4 separate regions of the Homo sapiens genome follow, and regions 1, 2 and 4 are each linked to region 3. The links are contacts of gene promoters, found by promoter capture Hi-C in human tissues and cell types (Jung and others, 2019). All regions are on one chromosome and are shown on one strand. The core of a region is centred on a gene start or on the middle of the fragment in contact, and the rest is flanking DNA. Distances in the headings are between cores, read along the strand shown. Region 1 holds the start of AMH (anti-Mullerian hormone). Region 2 holds the start of OAZ1 (ornithine decarboxylase antizyme 1). Region 3 holds the start of LMNB2 (lamin B2). Region 4 holds the start of LINGO3 (leucine rich repeat and Ig domain containing 3).

Region 1 (6,927 bases), core at 4,428-6,927, 210 kb before region 3:
GGCGATGCAGCCCCGTGTCCAGACGCTCCCCTGTTGCCCCCGAGCAGCCACAGCTCCCATCTGTCCACCCCAGAGAGCAGACCCTCTGTGGCTCTGAGTCCCATGTGGACATGTTTTGTTCTGTCCACAGCCTTCTGTTTTGCATTATTTAATTTTCTGGGAGTGGGGAGAGCTGATGTCAGTCCAGCCAGATGTGGTGAAGGGCAGCCTTTGATTTTAGCTTGTGCAGAGGCAGGGGTGAGCCGAGTCCCCTCAGCACCGTGGACATCGGGGCTGGAGCACTCTTTGTGTACCCTGACATGCCCCACGGGCCTGGCCTATGGCAAGGGCTCTGTTACCGTCCCCGTCTTCCAGATGAGGTCATGGGTAGAGGGGGTGCCACAGCCGCAGATGGTGGAGTTAGACTTTGAACTCCAGCGTCTGAGACGAGATGTGTGCGCCCGGCTGCCCCAGCTTAGGGCCTGCAGATGGGCGGGTCTTTGGGTCTTCAGTGTAGCCCATTTGCTTTTCTTGTGCCTGTGTCTGCCTTGTGCCTACTGCTGGCGTGGTGGCGTGGGCAGTGGACGGCTCCCTGCCTCGGGAGTGACCGGCGGTGCTGTCCTGGCTGTGCCTCCCTCTGACTCAGAACCACCAGGAAGGTGGTGTCGGGGGCTCCCTGGGAACCCCCACTGCTCGAAGCCTGGCCCACAGCCCCAGGTGGTGACACCCGTGCTCACGAAGGCCTCCCGCTGGATCCCCCGTTTTCAGAAATGCTTGACCACTGTCAGCGGTAGCCATGCCTCTACAGAAGGGGGGTTCTGCCTCCATGCCTCTACAGAAAGGGGATCCCGCCTCTGAGGGCCTTGACGGCAGCAGGCCGCGATCTTCTGTCTAACGGGCCCCTGTTCTTCCCCTCCAGGACCCGTACTTCATGAAGAACCACCTGGGCTCCTATGAATGCAAACTCTGCCTGACACTTCACAACAATGAGGTGCGGCCTCTGCCTGGCTCCGGGCGGCTCGCGGCGGGCTGAGTGGCTGACGTCAGGGGGACCTGCCTGTGTCTGTCCGCCCGGCCTCGAGTCATGCGTGTTTCCTTTCCACTCCAGGGGAGCTACCTGGCACATACGCAGGGGAAGAAGCACCAGACCAACCTGTGAGTACCTCATGTCCCTTTGATGCCTGGTGCTCCAGCAGCCGTTGGCTCAAGTCTCTGTGAGCCTCGCGGGCCACTGCTCCACAGCCGGGGAGCCAGCCTGGCCTGAGCCTCCCTGGGCGCTTGAGTACGGTTCCTGGGGAGCATTAGAGAACAGAGGCATGGATGGCTGAGGCGGGCAGATCACTTGAGGTCAGGAGTTCGAGACCAGCCTGGCCAACATTGTGAAACTCCATCTCTACTAAAAATACAAAAATTAGGCCAGGCATGGTGGCACACGTCTGTAATCACAGCTACTATGGAGGCTGAGGCAGGAGAATCTTGAATCTGGGAGGCAGAGATTGCAGTGAACCAAGGTGCTGCCACTGTACTCCATCCTGGGCGACAGAGTGAGACTCTTGTCTTATTAAAAAAAAAAAAAAAGAGCAGAGGCATGGAGTTGTTGGAAGGGCCCCAGCCAGGGACAGTGAGGAGCATGACAGGAAGAGAACATGCCTGTCCTATCCCTGTCCTCAGCCAAACCCCAGGGCCCCTCCCAGGCCCCTGGCCCTCCTCATCTCTCAGCTTGTAGTGAGCTCCAAGGTCAGGGGGCTCCTGGCACCTGGGCCCATGGCTTTGGTGCCTGTGTGTGGAGGGGTCCCAGCAGCACCTCCATCCTGTCCGCAGGGCCCGGCGAGCAGCCAAGGAGGCCAAGGAGGCCCCTGCCCAGCCCGCGCCTGAGAAGGTCAAGGTGGAGGTGAAGAAGTTTGTGAAGATCGGCCGCCCGGGCTACAAAGGTGAGTCTGCCCGCAGCGGGGCCGGCCACAGCCGCTGCCGTGACATAAGTGTGTTCTTTAGTCTCCAGTGCGGGAGGTGCAGCCCTGATAGCCTCCTCCCTGAGCCACTGTTTTCCGGCCTTGGTGGCCGTCCCTCACCCACCTGCAGCCTCTGGCGTTGTGTCTGGGAGCTGTCAGGCTGGGCCCGATAAGCACCCATCTCACCCAGCAGCCCATTTCCCAGCTGAGCCACAGTCTGTGCCCTCCTGTCCGGGTCTTGTGGAAGCTTCTGGGAATTCTTGCCAAGCAAAAGAGTGGAAGTGGAGGTGTGGTGAGCCCTGGCACATCCCTCCGGTTAACCTTGAAGCCTTTGAAGGAGGACAGGGAGAAGCGGCTGTTAGAGGCAGCTCCTCCCGGACCCTCAGCAGTGGGAATGGCTAGAGGTGACCCCGGTTCAGAAAGCTGGGGAAGTGACCAGGGTGGAAGATAGAGACTTGTGTCCATAGGGTTCAGGAAGGCGGGCACGCTACCCAGCAAGTGTTCTTTACAGAAGGCGGGGACAGCCTGTGTGCCTGGCCTCCAGACAGAAGCCTGCAGGGCAGAGGTCCCGGGGCAGGTGCACCGGGTGGGCGAGGGTGGCTAGAGCGGCAGGCTCCTGGTGGGGAGGCCCTGACAGGTCCTGGGCTTGGGCTCAGGACGGTGAGGCGGCAGAGGGCTTGTGAGTGTGCGTGTCTGAGGCCGCATGGAGAGTGGCCGGGCGGCAGGCAGCCCAGCAGCCATTCTCGGGGTCCAGGCTGCTGAGCTCTGGCGGGAAGGGCATCCTCTCTCGCTCACCGTATACATGGTGTCAGCCCTGTTCAGGCGGCCCCGCTCGAATCCCAGAGCCAGGGTGCCGAGGGCCCCTCCCTACCCAGTGGCCCCAACTCCTGCTGGGTGGTATCCCAGCACCCCTGGTGAAGGGCTCTGGGGATTGGGACAAAGGAGCACCATCCTCGGTCCCTGCCTGAGTGACTCCGCAGGTAGCTCAGCTCTGGCGCACCTGTGCCTTCACCTATACCAGAATCCCAGAGCCTGGGCGGAGATTGTCTAATGGTTGCCAGAGCTGCAGGGCCTCCCCCGGGGTCCCGCTCTCGTTCAGTGGGTGGCATTAGCCTGCCCCAGGTTCCTCAGCTTCGGAGAGGACAAGCAGCCGGGACCTGAGAGCTTTCTGTGTTGCAGTGACCAAGCAGAGAGACTCGGAGATGGGCCAGCAGAGCCTCCTCTTCCAGGTGAGATCAGGGACTTGGGCGTGGGGGGCGGCCAAAGGCACCCAAGAGGCGGCTCTGCCACCCGGCCGTGTCCCTGCAGATTGACTACCCTGAGATCGCCGAGGGCATCATGCCACGTCACCGCTTCATGTCTGCGTACGAGCAGAGGATCGAGCCTCCGGACCGGCGCTGGCAGTACCTGCTCATGGCCGCCGAGCCCTACGAGACCATTGCCTTCAAGGTAGCGTGGCTGCGGGGTTCCCTGGGCCCCCTTGAGATGTGCAAGCCAGAAGGATCTGCATAGGCTGGGCAGGATGCCCCTCCCATCGGGCTTGGGGTCCCCTGGGCCCCCCCCAAGTCGGAGCCAGAAGGGTCTGCACAGGCCGGGCAGGGCACCTCTCCCATTGGGCTCTGCAGGAGGGCCTGCTTGGGCTCCACTGGGCCAATGAGAAGGGAGGCCGGCAGGGCTGAGCGCCAGGCCTGTGAGGCCTTTGCCAAGTGACCTCACTTCCTGGGCCAGGCTGCTGGAGGGCTTCCTACAGCCTGTCCCCATGCCTGGACAGGGCGGCCATCAGGAAACAAATAATACAAACGGTGACTGCCCAGGGAGGGGGCCAACAGCGTGCTAGCATTGAGGCCAGGTCTGTTTCACTCCAGAACTGAACCCTGTGCCCCACGAAAGTCTTACCAGCCTTCTCCTGGGCTCCCAGGGTAGAGTCCGGGCTGGGGAGGCTAGTGCCTCGGGCTCCCTGCCTGATGGTCGCCCTGAGGTCACAGGGACCAGGAGCCCTCTCTGTCCCCCGCCCTCCCAGGTGCCGAGCAGAGAGATCGACAAGGCGGAGGGCAAGTTCTGGACACACTGGAACCGGGAGACCAAGCAGGTGAGTGGCTCGCCCCGAGCCTGGCTCCTTCCCACCCAGCCCTGGCGGCCCTAGCCCTGCCCTAGCCCCACCCGTGCCTGCTGAACCTTTCTCCGTCTCTCTAGTTCTTCCTCCAGTTCCACTTTAAGATGGAGAAGCCCCCGGCTCCACCCAGCCTCCCTGCTGGCCCCCCTGGGGTGAAGCGGCCTCCACCCCCGCTGATGAACGGTCTGCCCCCTCGGCCACCGCTGCCTGAGTCTTTGCCACCGCCCCCGCCAGGAGGCCTGCCTCTGCCACCCATGCCCCCCACAGGGCCTGCGCCCTCAGGGCCCCCGGGACCACCCCAGCTACCCCCGCCAGCTCCAGGGGTCCACCCCCCGGCCCCAGTGGTGCATCCCCCTGCATCTGGGGTCCATCCCCCAGCTCCTGGCGTCCACCCCCCAGCTCCTGGCGTCCATCCCCCAGCCCCTGGGGTCCACCCACCAACCTCTGGGGTCCACCCCCCAGCTCCTGGAGTCCACCCTCCAGCCCCCGGGGTTCACCCACCAGCCCCCGGAGTCCACCCACCAGCCCCTGGGGTTCACCCACCAGCCCCAGGGGTCCATCCTCCCCCATCAGCGGGGGTTCACCCCCAGGCCCCGGGGGTGCACCCAGCAGCCCCCGCCGTTCACCCTCAGGCCCCAGGGGTGCACCCACCAGCCCCAGGGATGCACCCTCAGGCCCCGGGGGTCCACCCCCAACCTCCCGGGGTCCATCCGTCGGCTCCTGGGGTCCACCCTCAGCCTCCGGGAGTTCACCCCTCAAATCCTGGGGTGCACCCCCCAACTCCCATGCCCCCAATGCTGAGGCCCCCACTTCCCTCCGAAGGCCCAGGGAACATACCTCCCCCTCCCCCAACCAACTGAGAAGCTGCTCCCTCCCCCAGCAAGCCCAGCGCCAGGTGCTCTTGCCTTTTCCCACTGAGAGAAGGCTGCTCTTTTGTACTGCCCCCCGCTCATTAAACAGCCTCCCCCAGCCCTGAGTGCACTGATGTCCGCAGCGCCGCCCTACTGTGTCAGTGTGTGTGGGAGTGCCAGGCACAGCACCATCCCCCAGTTTGGGCCGACTGGGGAGGGCCTGGGGCCCGCCAGGAGACACCTGTGGGAGGCCTGAGAGATGGCTGTACCTTGGAGATGGCCTGGTGGAGGACAGACCCCACCAGCCAGCTAGGAGGGGATCTGGGGTCCTGTTCTGGGGAGGGAAGAGCAGACTCCACGATATCCTTGGGGTCTCCAGATAGCCCACCAGGGGTGGGGAGGGTGAGCAGGGACAGGGCGCCCCCACTGACTTGGGACCCTCCTCCTCCAGGCCCACACCTCAGCACCCAGGACATCTGGGCCCCCCGCCCCCAGCGCTGTCTAGTTTGGTTGCCTGGCCGTCACTCCCAGCCTGGTTCCCACTCCTGTGTCTTCTGGGGATGGCCCTCAAGGACGGCATGTTGACACATCAGGCCCAGCTCTATCACTGGGGAGGGAGATAGGCTGCCAGGGACAGAAAGGGCTCTTTGAGAAGGCCACTCTGCCTGGAGTGGGGGCGCCGGGCACTGTCCCCCAAGGTCGCGGCAGAGGAGATAGGGGTCTGTCCTGCACAAACACCCCACCTTCCACTCGGCTCACTTAAGGCAGGCAGCCCAGCCCCTGGCAGCACCCACGATGCGGGACCTGCCTCTCACCAGCCTGGCCCTAGTGCTGTCTGCCCTGGGGGCTCTGCTGGGGACTGAGGCCCTCAGAGCAGAGGAGCCAGCTGTGGGCACCAGTGGCCTCATCTTCCGAGAAGACTTGGACTGGCCTCCAGGCAGCCCACAAGAGCCTCTGTGCCTGGTGGCACTGGGCGGGGACAGCAATGGCAGCAGCTCCCCCCTGCGGGTGGTGGGGGCTCTAAGCGCCTATGAGCAGGCCTTCCTGGGGGCCGTGCAGAGGGCCCGCTGGGGCCCCCGAGACCTGGCCACCTTCGGGGTCTGCAACACCGGTGACAGGCAGGCTGCCTTGCCCTCTCTACGGCGGCTGGGGGCCTGGCTGCGGGACCCTGGGGGGCAGCGCCTGGTGGTCCTACACCTGGAGGAAGGTATGTGGGGCCCAGCCCCAAGCTTGGCACCGCCGTCTTCCTTCAGGTGGGCCGGGTCCTCCTAGGGAAGATCAGGGGCTGGCAGAGCCCCCACCCTGGGCAGGGAGGCTGTGGTCTTGTTCCTAGGACTGGGTTGCGGGTCCGTGGCCTGGAAGGTGGGCACCACACTCTGTCCTGTCCCCGAAGCCCAGCTCTTAGACTTGCCCCTGCCTCGGTGCCAGGGAGAGAGCTGCTGCCTTCTCCCCACCCCTGAAGACGACGCAGGGCTCGGGGCCAGTGGAACCCTTCTTCCCACAGCCCCAGCCTGTTCTCAGGGCCGCTGGCCTAAGATACTCCCTGCGGGGAAGGGGCTTCATCGGGCACCCCAACCCAGAGACCCCAGGGCGGCAGCCCCACCCACAGCCTCAGACGCAGCCCCTGCCTGCCCCTGCCGTCACCGCTCCCTGGCTGCAGGAAGGCAGCTAAGAGGGGCACCCTTGTCCCCCGCTTGAGGTCCCCTGCACAGTGGCCAGAGCGGCAGGGACAGATCCCAAAGATTCCCGGGGGGTGTGGCCTTCAATGGCTCAGGCGTCCCCTGCTGTCCCGGCTGCAGTGACCTGGGAGCCAACACCCTCGCTGAGGTTCCAGGAGCCCCCGCCTGGAGGAGCTGGCCCCCCAGAGCTGGCGCTGCTGGTGCTGTACCCTGGGCCTGGCCCTGAGGTCACTGTGACGAGGGCTGGGCTGCCGGGTGCCCAGGTACCAGGGAGTTGCATGGGGCAGTGCCCGGGCCGTGGCGGGGGGCATGGATTTGTTGCAGGGTCTGCAGTACTGAGAACAGCGTAGAACCAG
Region 2 (6,461 bases), core at 1,904-4,403, 190 kb before region 3:
AAAAAAAAAATCAGTCCATCAATCAATCAATCAGAGTCATACTCTCTGCGTCCTCTGCCAGCAGCCGTATCCCCTCAACCTTGATTTCAGAAGAAAACCCAGGCATGGGCCCTCTATCCTTGACCACCCCACATCCTCTGCTGTCCCTTTCAGACAGTTCAAGCCTCACCACCTCCAGAGAAAGATATGCCTCTTTCTCTCCCTGCTGTCCGGGAGGCCCCTCACCAGTCACAGACTCCCCAGCTCCCAGCAAAGCACCTCCCACCCTGGGGAGTTTCTGGGGAACCCGGCCAGGTGGGCCAGCAGGGCGCAGTTGCTGATCCTAGCGCTCATCCCACGTGGCCTGGCCAGTGTGGGGGTGGCCCTTCTAGAAGCCTCACAGCATTGGCAGGCGGCCATCAGAGGCAGGCAGGAGGAGGAAGTGAGAGCTGCTGCAGTCAGGATGGAGGGATGGGGCTCCCTGGTCGTGGCTGTTCTGGAAATCGCACCGGTGACCTGTTCATTTCGAGCAGGCTCTTGCCTCTGTTCCCAGAGGAGGTCCTCAACTTAGGGGCGTCATTCTGCCCCCAAGGGACATTGGATGATGTTTGGGACATTTCTGGTTGTCATGACTTGGAGTGCTCCTGGCATGGAGTGGGTGGAGGCCAGGGACGCTGCTCAGTACCCTGCAGTGCCCAGGACGCTGCAGTCCAGCCTGGCAACAGAGCGAGACTCCGTCTCAAAAAACAAAAAAACAAAAAAAAAAGCAATCCACACCCTGAGTGGGGAAGGAGAGAGGAGAAGCATCCCAGGAGCTGGGGCCCTCCTGGTTCATACCATTTGCCCAGGATGCCCCACCCCAGAGAACAATCCAAGCCCAATGTCCACGGGTCCGAGGGAGGAGACCCTGAGTTAATTATTTGAAACAGAGTCTGTTCTCTGCTCACACCAGACACCAGAATAAACTCCTTTTTTTTGAGATGGAGTCTCGCTCTGTAGCCCAGGCTGGAGTGTAGTGGTGCAATCTTGGCTCACTGCAACCTCCACCTCCCGGGTGCCAGTTCAAGCAATTCTCCTGCCTCAGCCCCCTGAGTAGCTGGGATTACAGGCACGCGCCACCATGCCCAGCTAATTTTTGTATTTTTAGTAGAGACGGGGTTTCACCATGTTGGCCAGACTGGTCTTGCACTCCTGACCTCGTGATCCACCCGCCTCGGCCTCCCAAAGTGCTGGGATTACAGGCGTGAGCCACCGTGCCCAGCCTCAGGATAAACTCCTAATGGGGCAAACGGTATAAACCAGGAGGCCCCCAGCTCCTGGGATGCTTCTCCTCTCTCCTTCCCCACTCAGGGTGTGGATTGCTTTTTTTTTGTTTTTTTTGTGACAGAGTCTCGCTCTGTCACCAGGCTGGAGTGCAGCGGCGCCATCTCAGCTCACTGCAACCTCTGCCTCAAGGTGTGGATTTCAACGTGCGCAGTCTCCTGGGACCTCAGCAGGGCAGAGGATCATGGGATGCAGAGTCTCTTGGGGGGGTCCGTGGAATCCCCTAACTCGGGAGTCTCACCCAGGGTGATTCTGCCCCCGCCAAGGGACACTGGGTGATGTCTGCGGATACTTGTGGTTGTCACAACTGGGGGTGCTCAAGGCATGGAGTGGGTGGAGGCCAGGGACGCTGCTCAGCGCCCTGCAGTGCCCAGGGCGGCCCCAAATGTCAACCGCAGGAGTTAATTTCTGCCTCAACACCTGAATAGCGAATGCTCGTAGCAGAGATGCAACAACAGCCTTCTGGTGCAGTACGAAATCTCGAAAGACAGGCAGGCGCGGTGGCTCACGCCTGTTAATCCCCAAACTTTGGGAGGTCGAGGCAGGCGGATCACCTGAGGTCAGGAGTTCCAGACCAGCCTTGCCAACATGGTGAAACCCCATCTCTACTAAAAATACAAAAATTAGCCGGGCGTGGTGGCGGGCACCTGTAATCCCAGCTCCTCAGGAGGCTGAAGCAGGAGAATCGCTTGAACCTGGGAGGCGGAGGTTGCAGCGAGCCGAGATTGCGCCACTGCACTCCAGCCTGGGTGACAGCCAGGCCCGGTCGCAAACAAAACAAAATTAAAACCATGAAAGGAATCAGGATTTGCCAGGAGTAGCATTTTTGCTTGGTAAGAACAAAATTTTGTTTATACATGAAATAAAAAATATTTTATTAAACCTCACTGCAAAGTGGCAACTTTTTGCTAAATTCATAATTTAGTCTACACACAAGCTATGTACCCGTATGTGACTGCCAAGAGTTATATCTTTGCTTATTAAAAGCAAAGTGCAGTTCATACCTGAGATTTTTTTTCTGGATTTAACCAGGAGGGGAAATATTTTTGCTAGGTAAGTCCACATTTTACCTCACAGGCGAAACAGTTTACCGAACTTGACCACCAAAGAAATCGTTTTTTCCTTGGGAGATCCACATTTTAGTTCATACATGAGATGTGTTTCTGAATTTTAACTGCCAGGAGTAGTGTTTTTCCTTAGGGTAAGTTTCAGTTTCCACAGGAAAAATCTGAATTTATCTGCAAGGAGTAAAATTTTTGCTTAAGTCCAAATTGTACACGAAATATTTTACTAAATTTGAATATCTTTAACATTGGAAGTTCTTTTTTTTTAAACACTGGAAGCATTTTAAGAACTGCAAGACCAAATTTAAAAAAATAAAACCAGTAATATCATCGATGATTACCAGGTGTTACTGGAAATAATTCTGGCGCGGTTGGACAACCCCCCAAGCACCCGGGGGCCTACCCAGGGGAGGGGTCCCGCTGCGTGAAGGGACCCTAGGGAGGGCGACGTGGACCACGACAGACAAACGGGCACTCGAAGACCCCCGAAAATCGGCCCCAGCGAGCCGCCCCCGCCCCCAAGGCACGATTGTGGGGGCGGGGACGGCTCGGGGCGCGCGCAGCGCGTACCCGGCGCCACGGCAGCCCCGCCCCCAGAAGGACGCGCGCAGGAGGGGGCGTGGCCCGAGGCTCACCAACCAATCTCCAGAGAGCCTCTTCCTTTCCCTTTCCCTTTCACCAATCAGGCGCTGGGAGGGGCGGGCGCGACTTTTTTTCCCGGCGGCCCCGCGGCTCTGCCCCTCGTGCGGTCGCGTTCCCGGCGGCGCGGGGGGCGTGGCCTGGGCGCAGCATCTATAAAGGCGGGCGGCGGCAGAGGCGCCATTTTGCGAACGGCGAGCAGCGGCGGCGGCGCGGAGAGACGCAGCGGAGGTTTTCCTGGTTTCGGACCCCAGCGGCCGGATGGTGAAATCCTCCCTGCAGCGGATCCTCAATAGCCACTGCTTCGCCAGAGAGAAGGAAGGGGATAAACCCAGCGCCACCATCCACGCCAGCCGCACCATGCCGCTCCTAAGCCTGCACAGCCGCGGCGGCAGCAGCAGTGAGAGGTAAGTGCCCCGCCCCCGTCCGAAGCTTCCAGAAGCGCCGGCCGCGCAGGCCTGCGGGGGGCCGTCCTCGGGGCGCCAGATAGGTCCCCGGCGCGCGAGATCCGCCCCTTTGTCAAGGCCAGAATCGCGCCGGGGACGAGGTAGGCGCAGGGCGGGCCTGGAGGTCCCCCCCGGCCTTAGCAGTGCTCTCGGGGGAGTCGGGTTTGGGGGGCAAGGGTGCGGAGTTGGATTTGGGGGGCACCGTCCGGGGCGCCTGATTTGCGGGAGGGGCATGGGTCGGAGGTCGGATTTGGGCGCAGGACGGGGAGTCGGGGGAGGCGTGTGTCTTTTGCGGGGTTCGCGGGATGGGACTCGGCTTCGGAGGAGGGGAGAGGCTTCTGGTCGAGGGTTGGATTTGCGGGGCGCAGACTGGGAATTCGGTTTGGAGGAAGGGTGTGCGGTCGGGTCGGATTTGGGAGGCGCAGGATGGGGCAATCTGGTTGGGGGCGGGGTCGGCCTTGGGGGGCTGGTCCGCGGACAGGCAGGGCCCGCGGGGCTGGTGAATCTGCACTTTTCGGTCCCGGCCGTCGAGCGTGCGCTGCGGGAGCGGGGAGCGCTTTGCGGTGGACGAGCTCCCGCGGGTCCCTGTTGCCTCGATGTGGCCCCTGCACGCGACGGACCTCGTGGGCCCCGTTTTTCGCCCCTGAGCGAGTCGGTCTGGATGGCCCGGGACGCGCCGGGCGAGGCCGCGCACGTAGACGGCACCCAGGGCTTCTCCGCGGGGGCCGCCGGGGAGCTGGGGGTGGCGCACTCCGACAGCCCGGCAGCGCCCTGGGAAGACCCCCGCCGCTTCCCGGGAAGACGCGTCCCGCTTCCGGGGGCGCGGGTGCCAGCTGCGGTTGTGGGGGAGCCCGCGGGGTCTCGGTCGAGCTTTCCCGACTGCGTCCCCCGAGGTGGGCGTCGCTCAGCCCCGGATCGGGAGGTTGGGCCGCGGTGCTGGCGGTGCCGCGGTTTGGGGGCCGTGCAAAATGGAGGCAACTTTGGGGCCTGTTTACCCTGCGCAGCAAATGGCTGCTGGCGCTGCCGGCTGCGCGATTGTGAAAATCTCCCCCGGGGCGCGAGGCCGCGTCTGCCTGGATGACGCAACCGGGAGGGCCCGGGCCTGGAGCGGGGGCGGGGGGGCGGGCGGCCGGGAGCCGGAGCGGGGCGCGTCCTCCATGAGGTCAGGCTAGGCCCGCCCGGTCTTCGCGGGGACAAGCAAGAGTCCCAGATTTTGGCCGTAGTGCAGGGTGGAAAGGGGAAGCCGCGACAGAACTGAAAAGGGGAAGCGCTGGCTGTCTTGGTGGCCGGGGGGTGAGGCTCTGCCCCGGCGGGGCTGCGTGAGGGGAAGGGGCCCCCCGCCCTGGGAAGGTTGGGCTGTCCTGGGCGGCGCCGCCCGAGGAGTCGGGGCTCAGTGACTGCTGCCCTTGTAGGTGCTTGGGGCAGGCGTTGGAGCTGCCTTCGGGAAGCCTCGGGGGTGTGGGACCGGGTGGGCCCCTGCCTGGGCGGGGCGGGGTCTTTTGGCCGAGGCAGGGGTGGGGATGTGCTGAAGGCCGCCCGGACGCCCTGGAGGGGTCTCCGCCCGGAGCCTGGCGCTGCCTCGTGACCTGCATCATCTTCAGTTCCAGGGTCTCCCTCCACTGCTGTAGTAACCCGGGTCCGGGGCCTCGGTGGTGCTCCTGATGCCCCTCACCCACCCCTGAAGATCCCAGGTGGGCGAGGGAATAGTCAGAGGGATCACAATCTTTCAGCTAACTTATTCTACTCCGTGAGTATGGGGCCGGGCCTGCTGGGGCTGCTCTGGGGCCACAGGTACTTTCTTGTGCACCTTGCTGCCCGTACCTGTGATTGAATGTAATCGTGGGAACCCTGAGTTTCATCAGAGCCGGCGCACAGTCTCCTGCAGCCCAGGCGTTGCCTGAGCTCAACACGGCCTAGGCCCAAGCTTTAGCGCTGCCGGGTTCTTGGAGTCCTGTGGGGTGAGTCAGGGTTCTGAATTGGGCTGCACCCCCTGGACAGGATGATCGGCTGAATGTAACAGAGGAACTAACGTCCAACGACAAGACGAGGATTCTCAACGTCCAGTCCAGGCTCACAGACGCCAAACGCATTAACTGGCGAACAGTGCTGAGTGGCGGCAGCCTCTACATCGAGATCCCGGGCGGCGCGCTGCCCGAGGGGAGCAAGGACAGGTGAGGGGCAAGGACAGGCAGGGAGTGCTCACCCAGGGGAGCAGGGACCAGGTGAGGGGCAAGGACAGGCGGGGAGTGCTCACCCAGGGGAGCAGGGACCAGGTGCGGGTTGCTGCCCAAGGGGTGCAGGGACAGATGAGGGAGGGCACTGCCTTCAGGCAGCACATATGGGGGCCACCATCGCTTTGTTGGTGGGGACAGGGTCCCCCCTTTTTTTTTTTTTTGAGATGGAGTCTTGCTTTTGTTGCCCAGGCTGGAGTGCAGTGGCATGATCTTGGCTCACTGCAACCTCTGCCTTCCGGGTTCAAGCGATTCTCCTGCCTCAGCCTCCCGAGTAGCTGGGCTTACAGGCGCCCGCCACCGATGCCCAGCTAATTTTTGTGTTTTTAGTAGAGACGAGGTTTCGCTATGTTGGCCAGGCTGGTCTTGAACTCCTGACCTCGTGATCCGCCCACCTCGGCCTCCCAAAGTGCTGGGATTACAGGCGTGAGCTACCGCTCCCGGCCTGGGGTCCCTTTTTAAAAAGTGCACTCCAAATTCGTACCCTGGGATTCTACCCTCCAAGGGATGCCAGGCAGTGTCAGAGCTTTTCTGTCATGGGGCATGCACGTGGGTGGGTGCAGCGGTGCTGCTCAACACTGTGGTGTCAGGACGGCCCCACCCAGAGGACGATCTGGGCCCCAGGGGGACCCTGGAGTAGAGCGGGCCTCAGGGTAGCTGCTAAGGCCCAGGAGGTAGGCAGGTGGGTCGGGCCAGCCGAGACGCTGACACTCGCTGCAGCTTTGCAGTTCTCCTGGAGTTCGCTGAGGAGCAGCTGCGAGCCGACCATGTCTTCATTT
Region 3 (7,353 bases), core at 1,017-3,516:
CTCTCCCAACAGGACACTGGGGCCTAGGGACCCCAGGACCCCAACCCATGGCAGGAATCAAGTGGGTGCTCCTGCCTGCCCCCCGTTCTGGAGTCCTGTCCTTGGATTGGGCATGGCCAGTGGGAGGGACAAAGAGCCTCCCCAGGGTTAGGTTGGGGGGCAGGACAGATTGCACCCAGACCCCAAGACACCCCGACCTCATGTCCCCTTGGTGGGCAGACTTTCCCGCCTCTTCTCCTTCAGTCTGCACTGAAGCCTCGGGGCCCATTCAGAACCTCAACACTTTCCACCGGACCCAAGATCCCAACTCTCACCCTTCCTTCATATTCTCTTGGGGGCAGAACCTGCCAGACCACCGCTGACACCAGGGCACAAATAAGGGACTCCCAAATTTCCCGTGGGACCCCAAGGTATCAGAACCTCTCCCTCGGCCCCCTACCCACCCTGGGCCTGGTGAGAGATGAGGGGCCTAATTCCCACCCCAGTCACCAATCTCTTCTGGATTCATCAGGGAACTCGCTAAAGCTCCAGGGAGAACTGAGACCACGTGACTCACCCCAGAGACTCCAGGGAGACCCCCCACACACCCCATCTTGGGCCTCCTCAGAGGGCCTGGGCCCCCCAGTCTCCTTGGAGCCCAGAGACCACCCCCATTCCACCCCAGATACCCCAATACCCAGCTTCATCCCCAGAGACTCCCACTCACACCCCCTCAGTTGGGGGGGGTCCGCCAAGTCTCCTTGGAATCCTCTGAGGGACGAGGCATATGGGGGGCTGCAGCCCAATACTCAGGGAGCCCCCAAATCCCCAGGACCTCTCTTTGGTGGGGAGCCCTAGTCTGTAACCCCCATGGCCCCAAAATGCACCTCTCACGGAAGGGTCCCCAGAGCTAGCTGGAGGCCCCTCTGCAGCCCTCACTCAGGACACGGAAGATCTCCTGGGACCCCCTCCATAGGTGGGGCATTCCTGGTCTGCACTTTTCACTCAGTGCCCTAGAAACCCCCTGGAGGTCCCCAAGAGAATGGGCCACTCCGGTCTGCACCCCTCCCAAGGGGTCCCCCAAGATCTCGGAAACTGCGGTGGGCAGGGCCTGCCCAGGTGGCACCCCTCACTCAGGGTCTCCCCCTGGAGATCCCCGAGGCCAGGCTGACCCCACCCCTGCTCAGGGTCCCCCGTGATCGCGTACTCCGCGGTGGGCTGGGCCTGGCCGAGCTGCACCCCTCACTCAGGGACCCCTTGAAACCCCCTGGAGACCCCCAAGCCGGGACCCTTCCCGGTCTGCACCCCTGCCCAGGGTCCCCGCGATCGCGCACCCCGCGGTGGCCAGGACCTGCACCCTTCATCCAGGAGCCCCCCGCAAACCCCCTGGAGACCCCAAGCCGGGAGTCGTTCAGAGTCCCCCGCGATCGCGCGCCCCGTGGTGGGCGGGGCCTGGCCGAGTAGCACCTTTCACTCAGGGACTCTCCGAAACGCGGCGGAGATCCCCGAGGCCGGACTGTCCCCGTCTGCATCCCAGCTCAGGGTTCCCCGCGACTGGGAGCCCCGCAGTGGGCTGGGCCTAGCCGAGCAGCACCCCTCACTCAGAAGCCCCCAAACCTCCTGGAGACCCCCGAGCCGGAGCCTGTCCCCGTCTGCACCCCCGCCCAGGGTCCCCGCGATCACGCACCCCGCGGTGGGCGGGGCCTGGCCGAACTGCACCGCTCACTCAGGGGCCCCTCGAAACCCCCTGGAGACCCTCGAGACCCGGGCCCGTCCCTGTCTGCACCCAGGGTCCCAGCGATTGCCCACCCCGCGGTGGGAGGGACCTGGCCGAGCTGCACCCCTCACTCAGGGGCCCCCCGAAACCCCGCGGAAACCCCCGAAGCCGGGGCCCGTCCCCGTCTGCACCCCCGCCCAGGGTCCCCGCGATCGCGCGCCCCGCGGTGGGCGGGGCCTGCCGGCTGCACCCCCGCCCGGCCCCTAAGCCCCGGCGCCCACCTCGCGCGTGGTCACCTCCTCCTTCTCTGAGATCTTGAGCAGGAGCCGGTCGTTCTCCAGCTCCAGCGCGCGGACGCGGTCGATGTAGTGCGCCAGGCGGTCGTTGAGCTCGCGCAGCTCCTCCTTCTCCTGCAGCCGCGACAGGCGCGTGGGCGACAGCGGCGTGGCGGGCCCGCCCGCGCGGCCGGGCAGCGGCGTGGCCATGGTGGCGGCGGCTCGCGGCCTGCGCTGCTCCCGACGGCGGCCCGGGCTCGGCGGGCTCATTCAATCCGCGCCGCCGGCTGCAAGATGGCGCCGCGCCGCGCCGCGCCCGCCGCCCGCCGCGGCGGGGCAGCCTGGGACTGGTAGTCCGACCGCCGGGCGCGCGCGGGGCACGCCGGAAGTTGAAGTCTCCGTCCAGCTCTCGCTTCGCAGAGGCGCTGACTCCAGAGACAGACTTCCTGGCTGCAAACTCCCAGCTCCGCCACGAGGAAACAGCGTTGGGTTGCTTTCTAGTACCTGTTTCCCCACTTAGAGAACCTCAAAACGTGTTCAAAGAACCAGACACAAAAGGCCATATAGGGCCGGGCGTGGTGGCTCACGCCTGTAATCCCAGCACTTTGGGAGGCCAAGGCCGGTGGATCACTTGAGAAAAGAATTTCGAGATCAGCCTGGACCACATAGGGAGACCCCCCCACACCATCTCTACTACGGAGGCGCGCGCCGGTAATCCCAGCTACTTGGGAGGCTGAGGCAGGAGAATCTCTTGAACTTGGGACGTGGAGGTTGCAGTAAGCCAAGATCGCGGCACTGCACTCCAGCCTGGGCAACAATGAGAAACTTTGTCTCAAAAAAAAAAAAAAAAAAAAAAAAAAGCCATATAGTGTACAATGCCACTGATATAAAATGTCCAGAAGAGGCTGTCAAGGAGTATGAATTTCAACAAATTGAGTTTAATGATCTCATTGGCTCTTATTAGCAATTCATGAATTGGATAGCATTCAATCTATTAAATAGGCACTCCAATGAGCTGAGCAGAGAGGATGGGCATTCTGCATTACAGGCAGAAAAGGCTGAAGAAAGGAGAAATAAGAATTAAAATAAAAGCCAGGCCAGGTACAGTGGTTTGCTCACGCCTGTAATGCCAGCACTTTGGGAGGCGGAGGTGGGAGGATAGCCTGAGCCCAGGAGTTTGAGACTGGCCTGGGCAACATAGCAAGACCCCATTTCTAAAAATAAAAATAAAAAAATTAGCCAGGTGCAGTGGCTCACACCTGTATTCCCAGCACTTTAGGAGGCCAAGCCGGGCAGATCATGAGGTCAGGAGTTCGAGACCAGCCTGACCAATATGGTGAAATCCCGTCTCTACTAAAAATACAAAAATTAGCCAGGCATGGTGGCACATGCCTGTAGTCTCAGCTACTCGGGAAGCTGAGGCAGGAGAATTGCTTTAACCCGGGAGGCGGAGGTTGCAGGGAGCCAAGATTGAACCACTGCACTCCAGCCTAGGCAACAGAGTAAGACTCCACCTCAAAAAAAAAAAAAAAAAAAAATTAGCTGGGCGCCTATAGTCCTAGGTATTTGGGAGGCTAAGGTGGCAGGATTGTTTGAGCAAGAGAGGTCAAGGTTGCAGTGAGCCCTGATCACATCACTGCATTCCAGCCTGGGTGACAGAGTGAGAGTTTGTCTCAAAAAAAGTAAAAATAAAAATACGAAATAAAAACCAATTGGTTGTTTCAAAGTTACTTTTTTCATAGGGTCTGTTTTAACCCCCTCTATTTTGAGGGTACTTCCCTATCAGGTTAACCGGTCCCCTTTGGCTTGGTGGCTGTGAATGTTTTTTTTTGAAAACCTGCACCCTTTAAAGTTCAGTTTGAGGCCAGGTACGGGTGGCTCTCACCTGTAATCTCAGCACTTTGGGAGGCTGAGATGGGGAGATCGCTTAAGCCTAGGAGTTTGAGAACATCCTGGGCAACATAGTGAGACTCTGTCTCCAAAAAAAAAAATTTTTTTTTTTTGGAGACAGAGTCTTGCTCTTGTCACCCAGGCTGGAGTGCAATGGCATGATCTCGGCTCACTGCAACCTCCACCTCCTGGGTTCAAGCAATTCTCTGCCTCCCGAGTAGCTGGGATTACAGGCACCCGCCACCATGCCCAGCTAATGTTTGTATTTTTAGTAGAGACCTGGTTTCACCATCTTGGCCAGGCTGGTCCTGAACTCCTGACCTCGTGATCCACCCACCTCGACCTCCCAAAGTGCTGCAGTTACAGGCGTGAGCCACGGCACCCAGCCAAAAAAATTTTTAATAATTAGCCACATGTGCTGGCACACACCTGTAGTCCCAGCTCCTCGGGAGGCTGAGGCAGGAGAATGGCTTGCATCCAGGAGTTCAAGTCTGCAGTCAGCCATGATTGCGCCACTGCACTCCAGTGTGGGCAACGGAGCGAGACCCTATTTCAAAAAATAAAAAAAATAAAAGATCAGTTTGACTACGTGGTACCTGGCACTAGTGACTCCATTCCAATTTTATCTGGTCTGCTGGGGACTAGAGACCCCATTGTCTAAAACAATGGCCTGCCATACATTTTATTTAACAAGGCCAGGCGCGGTGGCTCATGCCTGTAATCTCAGCACTTTGGGAGGCCGAGGCGGGCAGACCACCTGAGGCCAGGAGTTCGAGACCAGCCTGGCCAAAATGGCAAAAACCTGTCTCTCCAAAAAGTACAAAAATTAGCCAGGCGTGGTGGTGTACGCCTGTAATCCCAGCTACTTGGGAGGCTGAGGCACGAGAATCGCTTGAACCCAGGAGGCAAAGGTTGCAGTGAGCTGAGATCACACCACTGCACTCCAGCCTGGGCGACAGAGCAAGACTCCGTCTCCAAAAAAAACCCCCCAAAATTGTAATTTAACAAGACAACCTATACAGCAGTGTTTCTCCAACTCTGCACTAGATATTTGGGGCCAGATCACTCTCTGTTGCAGGGGGTTGGAGTCAGGAGGTGCTGTCCATTACAGGGTATTGAGCAGCATCCTCGGTCTCCACCCACTCCATGCCACGAGCATCCCAGCCTCATACTTATTTTTTATTTTATTTTTATTTTTAGTTGAGGCGGGTCTCGCTCTGTGGCCCAGGCTGCAGTGCAGTGGCGTGATCTCGGCTCATTGCAACCTCCGCCTCCCGGGTTCCAGCGATTCTCCTGCCTCACTCTCCCGAGTAGCTGGGATTACAGGCACTTGCCACCATGCCCGGCTAAGTTTCTGTATTTTTAGTAGAGACAGGGTTTTGCCATGTTGGCCAGGCTGGTCTTGAACTCCTGACCTCAAATGATCTGCCCGCCTTGGCCTCCCACGTTGCTGGGATTACAGGCGTCAGCCACCGCGTCCGACCCCGGCCCCCTAGTTATGAAAACCAAGTATGTCTCCAGAGATTGCCACATGTCACCAGAGGGGCAAAATTGCCCCAATTGGAGAATAACTTCCTCCTGACCTAGAACTGGCCCGGTCTTCCTTCTGCCTGGGGAACTCCTCCTTTTTACACATCTCACCTTGGGGGTTTGGCTCAGCCTCTGCCAGAGACCCCAGTAAATCACACACTGAGAATCTAATGCCCTTTCCAGCCTACTGAGGACACCAGGGGAAAGAGCCCACCTGCCTCCAACAGCCAACATTCACTCGCTATTATTCCCCTCTTACCAGATAGACCCCCAGCCTTAGAACCCAGGCAGGAAGCCTGGCATGGTGGCTCACACCTGCAATCCCAGCCACTCTGGGAGGCTGAGACAAGAAAATGGCTTGAGCCCAGGAGTTTGAGACCAGCCTGGGCAACATAGCAAGACCCAACTCTACAATACTCTACAGTTTTTTTTTTTTTTTTTTTTTTGGAGACAGAGTCTTTCTGTCCCCCAGGCTGGAGTGCAGTGGCCCAATCTTGGCTCACTGCAACCTCCTCCTCCTGGGTTCAAGAGATTCTCCTGCCTCAGCCTCCTGAGTAGCTGGGATGACAGGCATGCGCCACCATGCCTGGCTAATTTTTGTATTTTTGTAGAGTTTCCTCATGTTGGCCAGGCTGGTCTTGAACTCTGGACCTCAAGTGATCTGCTCACCTCGGTTTCGCAAAGTGCTGGGATTACAGGTGTGAGCCACTGCACCCGGCCCCTACAAAAAAATTTTTTTAATTAGTTGGTCGTGGTGGCGTGCATCTGTATCCCCAGCTACTTGGGAGGCCGAGTCAAGGAGATGGCTTAAGCCCAGGAGGTGGAGGCTGCAGTGAGCTATGATTGCACCATTTCACTCCAGCCTGGATGACAGCGCAAGACTCTCTCTCTCTTTTTTTTTTTTTTTGGCAGGGGGGACAGGGTCTCACCCTGTCACCCAGATTGCAGTGCAGTGGCTTGATCTCGGCTTACTACAACCTCCACCTCCCAGGGTCAAGTGATTCTCCTGCCTCAGCCTCCCGAGTAGCTGGGATTACAGGCGTGCGCCACTACGGCCCAGCTAATTTTTGCTAGAGACGGGGTTTCACCATGTTGGCCAGGCTGGTCTTGAACTCCTGACCTCAAATGATCCGCCCACCTCGGCCCTGCAAAGTGCTGGGATTACAGGCGTGAGACACCGTGCCCAGCTGCAAGACTCTTTCTCAAAACAAACAACAAATAAACCAGCCAGGCAAGAGGGAGCTAAGCAGTGACTGCGTATTTAGAGGACTGATACTGTTTTCCTTCCTCATAAAGGGAGGAATATAAAATATAAAGACAGATGGTAAAGCACAATGGGAAATAAATAATACTACAGGAGGCGGGGCCAGAGGGGAGAAGGATGATTGAGGTTTGGGTGGGAAATGGGGTCACTTTTTTTTTTTTTTGAGACAGAGTCTTGCTCTGTAGCCCAGGCTGAAGTGCACGATCTCAGCTCTCTGCAACCTCCGCCTCCTGGGTTCTTGTGATTCTCCTGCCTGAGCCTCCTGAGTAGCTGGGACTACAGGCATGTGCCACAACGCCCGGCTAATTTTTGTGTTTTTAGTAGAGACGGGGTTTCACCATGTTGGACCAGGCTGGTCTCGAACTCCTGATCTCAGGTGATCTGCCAGCCTCGGCCTCCCAAAGTGCTGGGATTACTGGTATGAGCCACCACGCCCGGCCGGGTCACTTTTCCTATTCTCCACCCTCAGACTGATCTGAAACCGCCCCCCCGCTCCGCATCAACTTCTCACTGACCACCGGCCTTGGCCACTGGCTGACCAGATCCCCCAACTAGCCCCTTACTGGAGGCCCTGCGGGGTCCCGCCCCCAACCCCATCGCGCTGCCCCTCTGGGCACTTCCATCCCCACATACCCCCATACCCAGCCTTTGCCCGTGCTGTTCCATCCGCCAGGAGCGCCGTTTCCTGCCTGACTGCG
Region 4 (7,268 bases), core at 159-2,658, 150 kb before region 3:
CCTAAGCCCCCATCCCACCGCCCGGCTGCCCCCTTCCTGCCACCCCACATCATCGAGATGGGGACAGGAGCTGGGTCTACAGGGGAAGCCCGTGGGTTCTTCCCACTCAGATCCTGTCTCCGACGATGGCTGCTGCTTCGGCTCAGAGAACAGCCAGGGTAAGGCCATGCCGCGGCAGCCCACCCCACACCAGCCTCCTGATAAAGCCAGCACCACCCTCCCTGAACCTGTTTCCAGCCTGCGTCCTCCACCTGACCACTCACACCTCACACCTTCTGCATCCTCTCCAGGCCACTTCCAGGGAGCCCTCCTGGGTTGCTCTGGTTCTCACAGCTCTGTTGTCCCTGAAGGCTCCCCCCAGCCAAGCCCCAGATCGTCCCTCTGCAAATACCACTGCACAGCAGACGCCCGCTCCCCACCCCCGCCGGAGCAAGGGTGTCTGCAGCCTCGCTGCGTCCATGGTTTAGCCAGGGACCGCTTGCTAAAATGCAGCTTCTGGGGCACATCGCCTCAGAAGTTCTGACTCCTCAGAACTGGGGGGGCCGGGACACCGGCACCGTTAGCGCCCCAAGCACACGTTGAGAAACCCAGTTACATGGTGGTCTCCAGCGTAAGGACCCGGGGCTTTTCTTGTGCCCGGACCAAGGCACGAGGTGCTGCTCCCCTAAACTTGTTGAATGGGACTCAGGGCCTCCCCTGGCCAGGCCCCAGAGGCCCGGGAGGTGGCGGCACCCACTCAGGGTGCCCAGGCCCACCATTTCTGGTGCTATTCAGACGCCCCCAGAGCAGGGGGACTCAGCCCTATGCCCCCAGGTCCCTCCCCGCCAGGCCGGGCCGTCAGCTCCAGCGATGGAGCAGGCTCCGGTGTGGACCCCAGATACCCTTTGCGTCTTCCAGCTCCGCACCCCCAGGCTGGACCAGACCCGGCTCGGGGGAGACAGGGCAGGAAGGCGCGGGCTGCAGGCTCTATTCGGACGTTCCCCACACCCCAGACCCAACCAGTGCCCCCTTCATCTCCTCCTGGAGAGGAGCGCATCCTCCCAGCGTCCCCAGTGCCCCGGGGAGATGCCCACCCGATTCCCCGCTCCTTGGCGCCCCAGAGGAGGGGCGGGGGGCCCCAGGGTGGGGAGTTCGCCCCCAAAGTTTCCAGGGGGAGCGTCGGGGGCCTGGCAAGGAGCGATGAGCCCGGGAGGGGTGCGCGGGGCAATTTCCCCCGGCTGAGGATGGGGTCGCGGGTTGGGGGCTTTGGGCGGCAGGGTCGCAGGGTGCAGGTGAGGGGTCCCCAGGTCTGCGGGCGCGCCCCACGCCGGGCCCCGGCACGGCCACTCACCTGGGCGGCTCCGCCGCGGACACGGCGCGGGCTGCGGCGCGGGGGCCGCCCGGAGCCGACACGAGCAGCCGCCGCCGCCGCCGCCGCCGCCGCCGCCGCCTCCCGGGCTCCGCCGTGCGCGCCGCCGCCGCGCGCAACCGCCCGCCGGTCTCCTCGGCGCGCCTGGCGGGGGCGCGCGGGGGCTGCGCTGGGCCGCGTGCGCGGCGGCTGGGGCCGCAGGTGTGAGAGGCCACGTGGGCGCAGGTGCGGGGACACTGGGAGCGCGGGTGCAGAACCCCTCCGTGCGCATCCCGGGCGCTTCGTGTCCGAGGACCTCCTGTCCCCACGGCCTGGGTGAGCCTGCGGAGACGGCCGTGCCGTGCAATAAACGCAGGGGCACCCCAAGTGCAGCAGGTTGTTCCGTGTGGAACCTTCTGGAAGCTACCATCGCCTCCTCTGCCCCCCGTCCCCCACCCCTAGTCCAGGCCGCCACCATCTGCACCTGGACATCTGCCACAGCCCAGCCCAGGCCCATTCCTTATGTGGCCCTCAGAGGAAGCCCCTCAGAGGAAGCTTAGCCACTGGGCTCCAGAACCTGCCGTGATTCCCTATTGCCGTGAGGGTCCCGTCTGCACCCCACCTACCCTGGAATTTCTCTTTCTTTCGTTCTTTCTTTCTTTCTTTCTTTCTTTTTTTTTTTGAGATGGAGTCTTGCTCTGTTGCCCAGGCTGGAGTACAGCGGTGCCATCTTGGCTCACTGCAACCTCCGCCTCCTGGGTTCAAGCGATTCTCCTGCCTCAGCCTCCCAAGTAGCTGGGATTACAGGCACCCGCCACCACGCCCGGCTAATTTTTGTATTTTTATTAGAGACGGATTTTCAGCATGTTGGCCAGGCTGGTCTCAAACCCCTGACCTCGGGTGATCCACCCACCTCGGCCTCCCAAAGTGCTGGGATGACAGGTGTGAGCCACCGCCCGGCTGCCTGCACTGTTTGGTCTGCCGCACCACCTCCTTCCCCCTGGCCTGTCCTCACTCACTCTTTCCCGGGCTCCACCCCCTCAGCCTTCCTCAAACAGGCCAAGTCCCTCCAGTCCCAGGCCTTTGATCTTCGCTGTGCCCAGCTTGGACAGCCTTTCTCTCTGTCCCTCCATCGAGCAGCTTGGAGCCTCTCAGTTTGTCTAATGGGCTTGTTCCCCAATGTGCCTTCCGCCTAGCACACAGCAGCGCACACACCAAGTGCACTGCGAGTGCTCATGGAAAGTTTTTTACCTTTTTTTTTGTCTTTTTTTTTTTTTTTTTTTTTTGAAATGGAGTTTTGCTCTCGTCACCCATTCTGGAGTGCAGTGGTGCAATCTTGGCTCACTGCAACTTCCACCTCCCGGGTTCAGGCGATTCTCCTGTCTCAGTCTCCCAAGTAGCTGGGATTACAGGCGCCCATGACCATGCCTGGCTAATTTTTGTATTTTTAGGGGAGATAGAGTTTCACCATGTTGGCCAGGCTGGTCTCGAACTCCTGACCTCAGGTGATCCACCCGCCTCGGCCTCCCAAAGTGCTGGGATGACAGACGTGAGCTACTATGCCCGGCCCCTCACTGCATCTTCTAAAAGCCACATTTAGCCTCCCTGTCTCACAGATGAGCAAACCAAGGCTGGGAGATGCCATTTGTCCCAAGTGAGGGGTGAGAAGGAGGCCTCGGGAACCTGTGTGTGTAACCTTGCCCTGTCTGCCCCCTTCACCCACTCTGCAGTCCTCCCCACCAGCTGTGTATTCCCAGTGGCTTTGGCGGTGGCCTGGCACTCACGCAGCCACCTGTGACTCAAGCAGGCTCTGTTCCCAGACTGTCGCGTTGGCTGGAGGCCCAGAAACCGCATCCCTGGGAGGCTGCAGGCCAGGCCCCCCACAGGATGCTGTGGGGGGCGGGTATGGTTCAATTCCTGGCCCCAGAGAGGTCCAGAAGGACTTCATGACACCCCATGCTCTCCCCACCAAATGGCCCTGGGCTGCTGTGCTGTGTGACCCCAGTAGGGGAGGTCTCCTTCTCTCTCTGAACGTGTTTCTTTCTCTGTAAAGTGATGCTCCTGATAGCTGGCTCTCAGGGCTCTTGGAGGAAGGTGTTCATTGAGCACCTACTGTATACCAGGCCAAGGGCTGGAGGGAGGAGGAGGAGACGCTTCCAGCCTCAAGGGGGATTTCTTCGGACAGAGGGAGCAGATGCCTGAAATATGAAATCGTCACAAAGCGGCGTGGAAGAGGCAGTAGTGACACCGGGTCCCGGACCGAAGCCAGGGGCCAGGGAGGCTTCCCGGAGGAGGAGACACTTGCTATGAGTCCTGGAGGGTGAGGGATGCCAGCTGGGGTCCAGTCGAGGCCCTGCCTGTGTAACCGTGGGGGATGTCCCTCTAGCCTCGGTCTCCACCTCTGCAAAATGGAGATCGGAACAGTTCCCATCTTCTCCCGGGGCTGCAGAGACTCTGCAGTGGTTCTGCCCGGTTTGTGGCCAGTGCTCCCGAGCCCTTGGGGGTGGAGATTGGGCCAGGCTCCTACTGCAGGGCCTGAGCACGGGCTGCTCCCTCTGCCTAGAACGCCCTTCCCCCAGACCTCTGCCCGCCCCTTTCCCCCTCTTCACTCGCGTCTCCACCCCGACCTTCCATCTCTCCCTGCGTGGCACATGCCTGCTAAGATGTCCAGTAATTTGCTGATGGGTCCAGTGCAAGCTCTACCCTCTCTTCTTTTTTTTTTTTTTTTTTGAGATGGAGTCTCACCCTGTCGGTTGCCCAGGCTGGAGTGCAGTGGCGCGATCTCGGCTCACTGCAAGCCCCACCGCCCGGGTTCACGCCATTCTCCTGACTCAGCCTCCCGAGTAGCTGGGACCACAGGCACCCGCCACCAGGCCCGGCTAATTTTTTTTTGTATTTTTAGTAGAGACAGGGTTTCACCATGTTAGCCAGGATGGTGTCAATCTCCTGACCTCATGATCGGCCCGCCTCAGCCTCCCAAAGTGCTGGGATTACAGGCGTGAGCCACCGAGCCCGGCCCCAGCCTTTTTTAAGACAGGGTTTCGCTCTGTCACCCAGGCTGGAGTGCAGTGGCGCAGTCATAGCTCACTGCAGCCTTGAACCCCCTGGGCTCAAGTGATCCTCCTACCCCAGCCTCCCGAGAAGCTGGGACTGCAAGTGAGTGGCAACACACCTGGCTAATTTTTTTATTTTTTGTAGAGATGGGGTCTCACTAAGTTGCCCAGGCTGGTCTTGAACTCCTGGCCTAATGTGATCTTCTCTTCTTGGCCTCCCCAAGTGCTAGTATTACGGGTGTGAGCCACTGTGCCCAGCCCAGTCTTGTAATATTATGTGTCCATTTACTCCTCCCCAAAATGATGAGGGATTAGTTTTTATTATTATTTTTTAAGAGACAGGGTCTCATTCTGTCACCCAGGCTGGAGTGCAGTGGTGTGATCATGGCTCACTGCAGCCTGGAACTCCTGGGCTGAAGTGGTCCTCCTGCCTCAGCCTCCCAAGTAGCTGGGACTACAGGCATGTGCCACCACACCTGGCTTTTTTAAATTAGCTTTTTTTATATCTTGTGAGACAGAGTTTCACTCTGTTTGCCCAGGCTGGAGTGCAGCGGTGCAAATCTTGGCTCACTGCAACCTCCACCTCCTGGGTTCAAGCAATTCTCCTGCCTCAGCCTCCCGAGTAGCTGAGACTACAGGCGCATGCCACCAGGCTCATTAAATTTTTGTATTTTTAGTAGAGATGGGGTTTCTCCATGTTGGCCAGGCTGGACTAGAACTCCTGACCTCAAGTGATCCGCTCACCTCGGCCCCCCAATGTGCTGGGATTACAGGCATGAGCCACTGAGCCTGGGTCAGATTAACTTTTTTTTTTTTTTTTTTTTTTTGAGACGGAGTCTCACTCTATCGCCCAGGCTGGAGTGCAGTGGCGCGATCTCAGCTCACTGCAAGCTCCGCCTCCCGGGTTCACGCCATTCTCCTGCCTCAGCCTTCCAAGTAGCTGGGACCACAGGCGCCTGCCACCACGCCCAGCTAATTTTTTTGTATTTTTAGTAGAGACGGGGTTTCGCCATGTTAGCCAGGATGGTCTCAATCTCCTGACCTCGTGATCTGCCCGCCTTGGCTTCCCAAAGTGCTGGGATCACCGGCGTGAGCCACGGTGCCCGGCCCCCAGATTAACTTTTAATTAACAGGGTCTTGCTATTTTGCCCAGGCTGGAGTGCAGTGGTGCAATCATAGCTCACTGCAGTCCTGAACTGGCCTCAAGTGATCCTCCCATCTCAGCCTCCCAAAGTGCTGGGATTACATGTGTGAGCCACTGTGCCTGGCCTGGATTCATTATTATTCCCACTTTACAGATGAGAATTTGGGGACTCAGAGAGGTTAGGTCACTAGCCTCAGGTCACACAGCATCTGCCTGCTGAAGCTGGGGCTTGACCTCAGGCATCTGGAGCCCAAGGCTTCCAGGACTCTACACGTTTGCCTCTTAGCAGCCAAGGACTCTTTCCCCAGTTACAGAGGGTGGCCACTTGTCTGGGGCCACACGGGAGGCTCCCAGGCCACCTGCCCCCGCAGCCTCCCTCCCTGGGACATGACTGCCACTCCCGCCCGCATCTGGTCCCGTCCCTCACGCTGGAGAGAGCGAGCGAGAGGAGGAGGGCTTTTAATTTTAGAAATGGTTCCTGCTGCAGAAGAGTTCCTGCTGGTTTTCCCAGGCAGGAGAGCACAGGACAGGAGACCCCTCGGCCCCACCACGGCCGTCCCCAGAAGGATGCCCCCCTCTGCGGGCTGCTGCCTCCCTGCCCCCCAGCCTCTCCCACGGCTTCCCCATCTGGAGCCGCCCTCTCCGCCCAGGTGGTAAGTCTCCATGGCAACGTCCCATCACAGGTGGTCGTAACCTTAGCAACCAGGTGCTCCCACCCCACCGCCTGGGAGGCTCAAAGCCGCGCCTGCATCCCCCTCCCACGCTCTCCCTGCCCCCGCCCCCCGGGCAGCTCTCCAAGAGGAACCGAGGGAGATGCATCCTGCCAGGGATGCTGGGCCCAGAGACTTGAGGGACACCCCAAGATCACCCAGCAGCTGAGCTGCTGGGCCTGGGGTGCTCCACGGGACATCAAACCCACCTCCCTCGTCCTGCAGGATGCAAAAGAAACTGCACTTCTCGACATCGCCTGGGCTCCTACTAGGTGCTGCGTCCATGCCAGGCTCAGGCGCCGTCCCTGCCCTCAGGAGGCTTCCACTCAGGACAAGGGGTGGGGAGACACTGACCGAGGACAGGAAGGGGACAATGGCCGGGCGTAGTGGCTCGTGCCTGGAATCCCAGCACTTTGGGAGGGAGAGGCAGGAGGATCGCTTGAGCTCAGGAGTCTGGGCAACATAGCGAGACCCTCATCTCTTTAAAAAAAAAATTATCTGGACATGGTGTTGCATGCCTGTAGCCCCAGCTACTCAGGAGGCTGAGGTGGGAGGATCGCTTGAGGCTAGGAGGAGGAGATTGCAGTGAGCCAGGATCTCACCACTGCATTCCATTCTGGGCGACTGAGCAAGACCCTGTCTCAAAAAATATATATGCATATTGGCCAAGTGCGCTGGCTCACACCAGTAATCCCAGCACTTTGGGAGGCCAAGGCAGGTGGATCGGTTGACGTCAAGAGTTTGAGACCAGCTTGGCCAACACGATGAAAATACAAAAATTAGCTGTCCCCACAAATAAGTGACCCCCAGAGTAAGTTCTAGGTTTAGAATGAAATTTATCCATCTACTATTAAAAAAAAATTCTCTCAGCCAGGCGCAGTGGCCGAGAAAAAAAAAAAACACAACTCTCCTCTGATTTACATGGAAATTAATCACCCACATCAGATTCTGAAGGAAACTCTTGCTTATATTACTTTTTTTTTTTTTTGAGGCAGAGTCTCACTCTGTCGCCCAGGCTGGAGTGCAGTGGCGCG

Evidence for each region. The method cuts DNA at HindIII sites, captures the fragments that hold promoters and counts their contacts. A contact is called where the count stands out against the background at its distance.
Region 1: the fragment with the promoter of AMH here is called in contact with the fragment with the promoter of LMNB2 in region 3 in 2 of the 25 tissues and cell types used here (dorsolateral prefrontal cortex and spleen).
Region 2: the fragment with the promoter of OAZ1 here is called in contact with the fragment with the promoter of LMNB2 in region 3 in 1 of the 25 tissues and cell types used here (dorsolateral prefrontal cortex).
Region 4: the fragment with the promoter of LINGO3 here is called in contact with the fragment with the promoter of LMNB2 in region 3 in 5 of the 25 tissues and cell types used here (aorta, dorsolateral prefrontal cortex, small bowel and 2 more).

What each region holds. Positions count from the first base shown.
Region 1 is chr19:2,243,646-2,250,572 of GRCh38, forward strand. It overlaps AMH (anti-Mullerian hormone), which reads left to right and starts at 5,678. Exons shown (of 5, transcript NM_000479.5): 1 at 5,678-6,099; 2 at 6,692-6,834. The coding sequence starts at 5,688. SF3A2 (splicing factor 3a subunit 2) reads left to right here. Exons shown (of 9, transcript NM_007165.5): 3 at 899-970; 4 at 1,088-1,134; 5 at 1,801-1,910; 6 at 3,108-3,157; 7 at 3,237-3,377; 8 at 3,949-4,017; 9 at 4,122-5,010. The coding sequence ends at 4,901. RefSeq lists enhancers at 1-270, 1,935-2,435, 2,689-3,766, 3,065-3,566, 5,621-5,760 and promoters at 2,689-5,687, 3,622-5,656, 5,408-5,687, 5,478-5,687, 5,656-5,687. The HindIII fragment of the contact is 11,600 bases long and covers 1-6,927 here.
Region 2 is chr19:2,266,333-2,272,793 of GRCh38, forward strand. OAZ1 (ornithine decarboxylase antizyme 1) reads left to right here and starts at 3,154. Exons shown (of 5, transcript NM_004152.3): 1 at 3,154-3,412; 2 at 5,053-5,198; 3 at 5,450-5,622; 4 at 6,403-6,461. The coding sequence starts at 3,267. LOC105372240 (a long non-coding RNA gene) reads right to left here and starts at 2,921. Exons shown (of 2, transcript XR_936242.3): 1 at 2,770-2,921; 2 at 2,161-2,540. RefSeq lists enhancers at 188-357, 2,853-3,467, 6,205-6,264, 6,275-6,334 and silencers at 2,721-3,210, 4,176-4,235, 4,446-4,645, 4,656-4,995. The HindIII fragment of the contact is 6,913 bases long and covers 1-4,406 here.
Region 3 is chr19:2,454,693-2,462,045 of GRCh38, forward strand. It overlaps LMNB2 (lamin B2), which reads right to left and starts at 2,267. Exons shown (of 12, transcript NM_032737.4): 1 at 1,978-2,267. The coding sequence starts at 2,241. It overlaps LINC01775 (long intergenic non-protein coding RNA 1775), which reads right to left. Exons shown (of 2, transcript NR_134931.1): 1 at 7,289-7,353; 2 at 4,245-4,408. RefSeq lists enhancers at 1-286, 287-995 and silencers at 1,256-1,435, 1,666-1,755, 1,816-2,065, 2,186-2,365. The HindIII fragment of the contact is 70,551 bases long and covers 1-7,353 here.
Region 4 is chr19:2,306,746-2,314,013 of GRCh38, forward strand. It overlaps LINGO3 (leucine rich repeat and Ig domain containing 3), which reads right to left and starts at 1,409. Exons shown (of 2, transcript NM_001101391.3): 1 at 1,331-1,409. The HindIII fragment of the contact is 18,961 bases long and covers 1-5,354 here.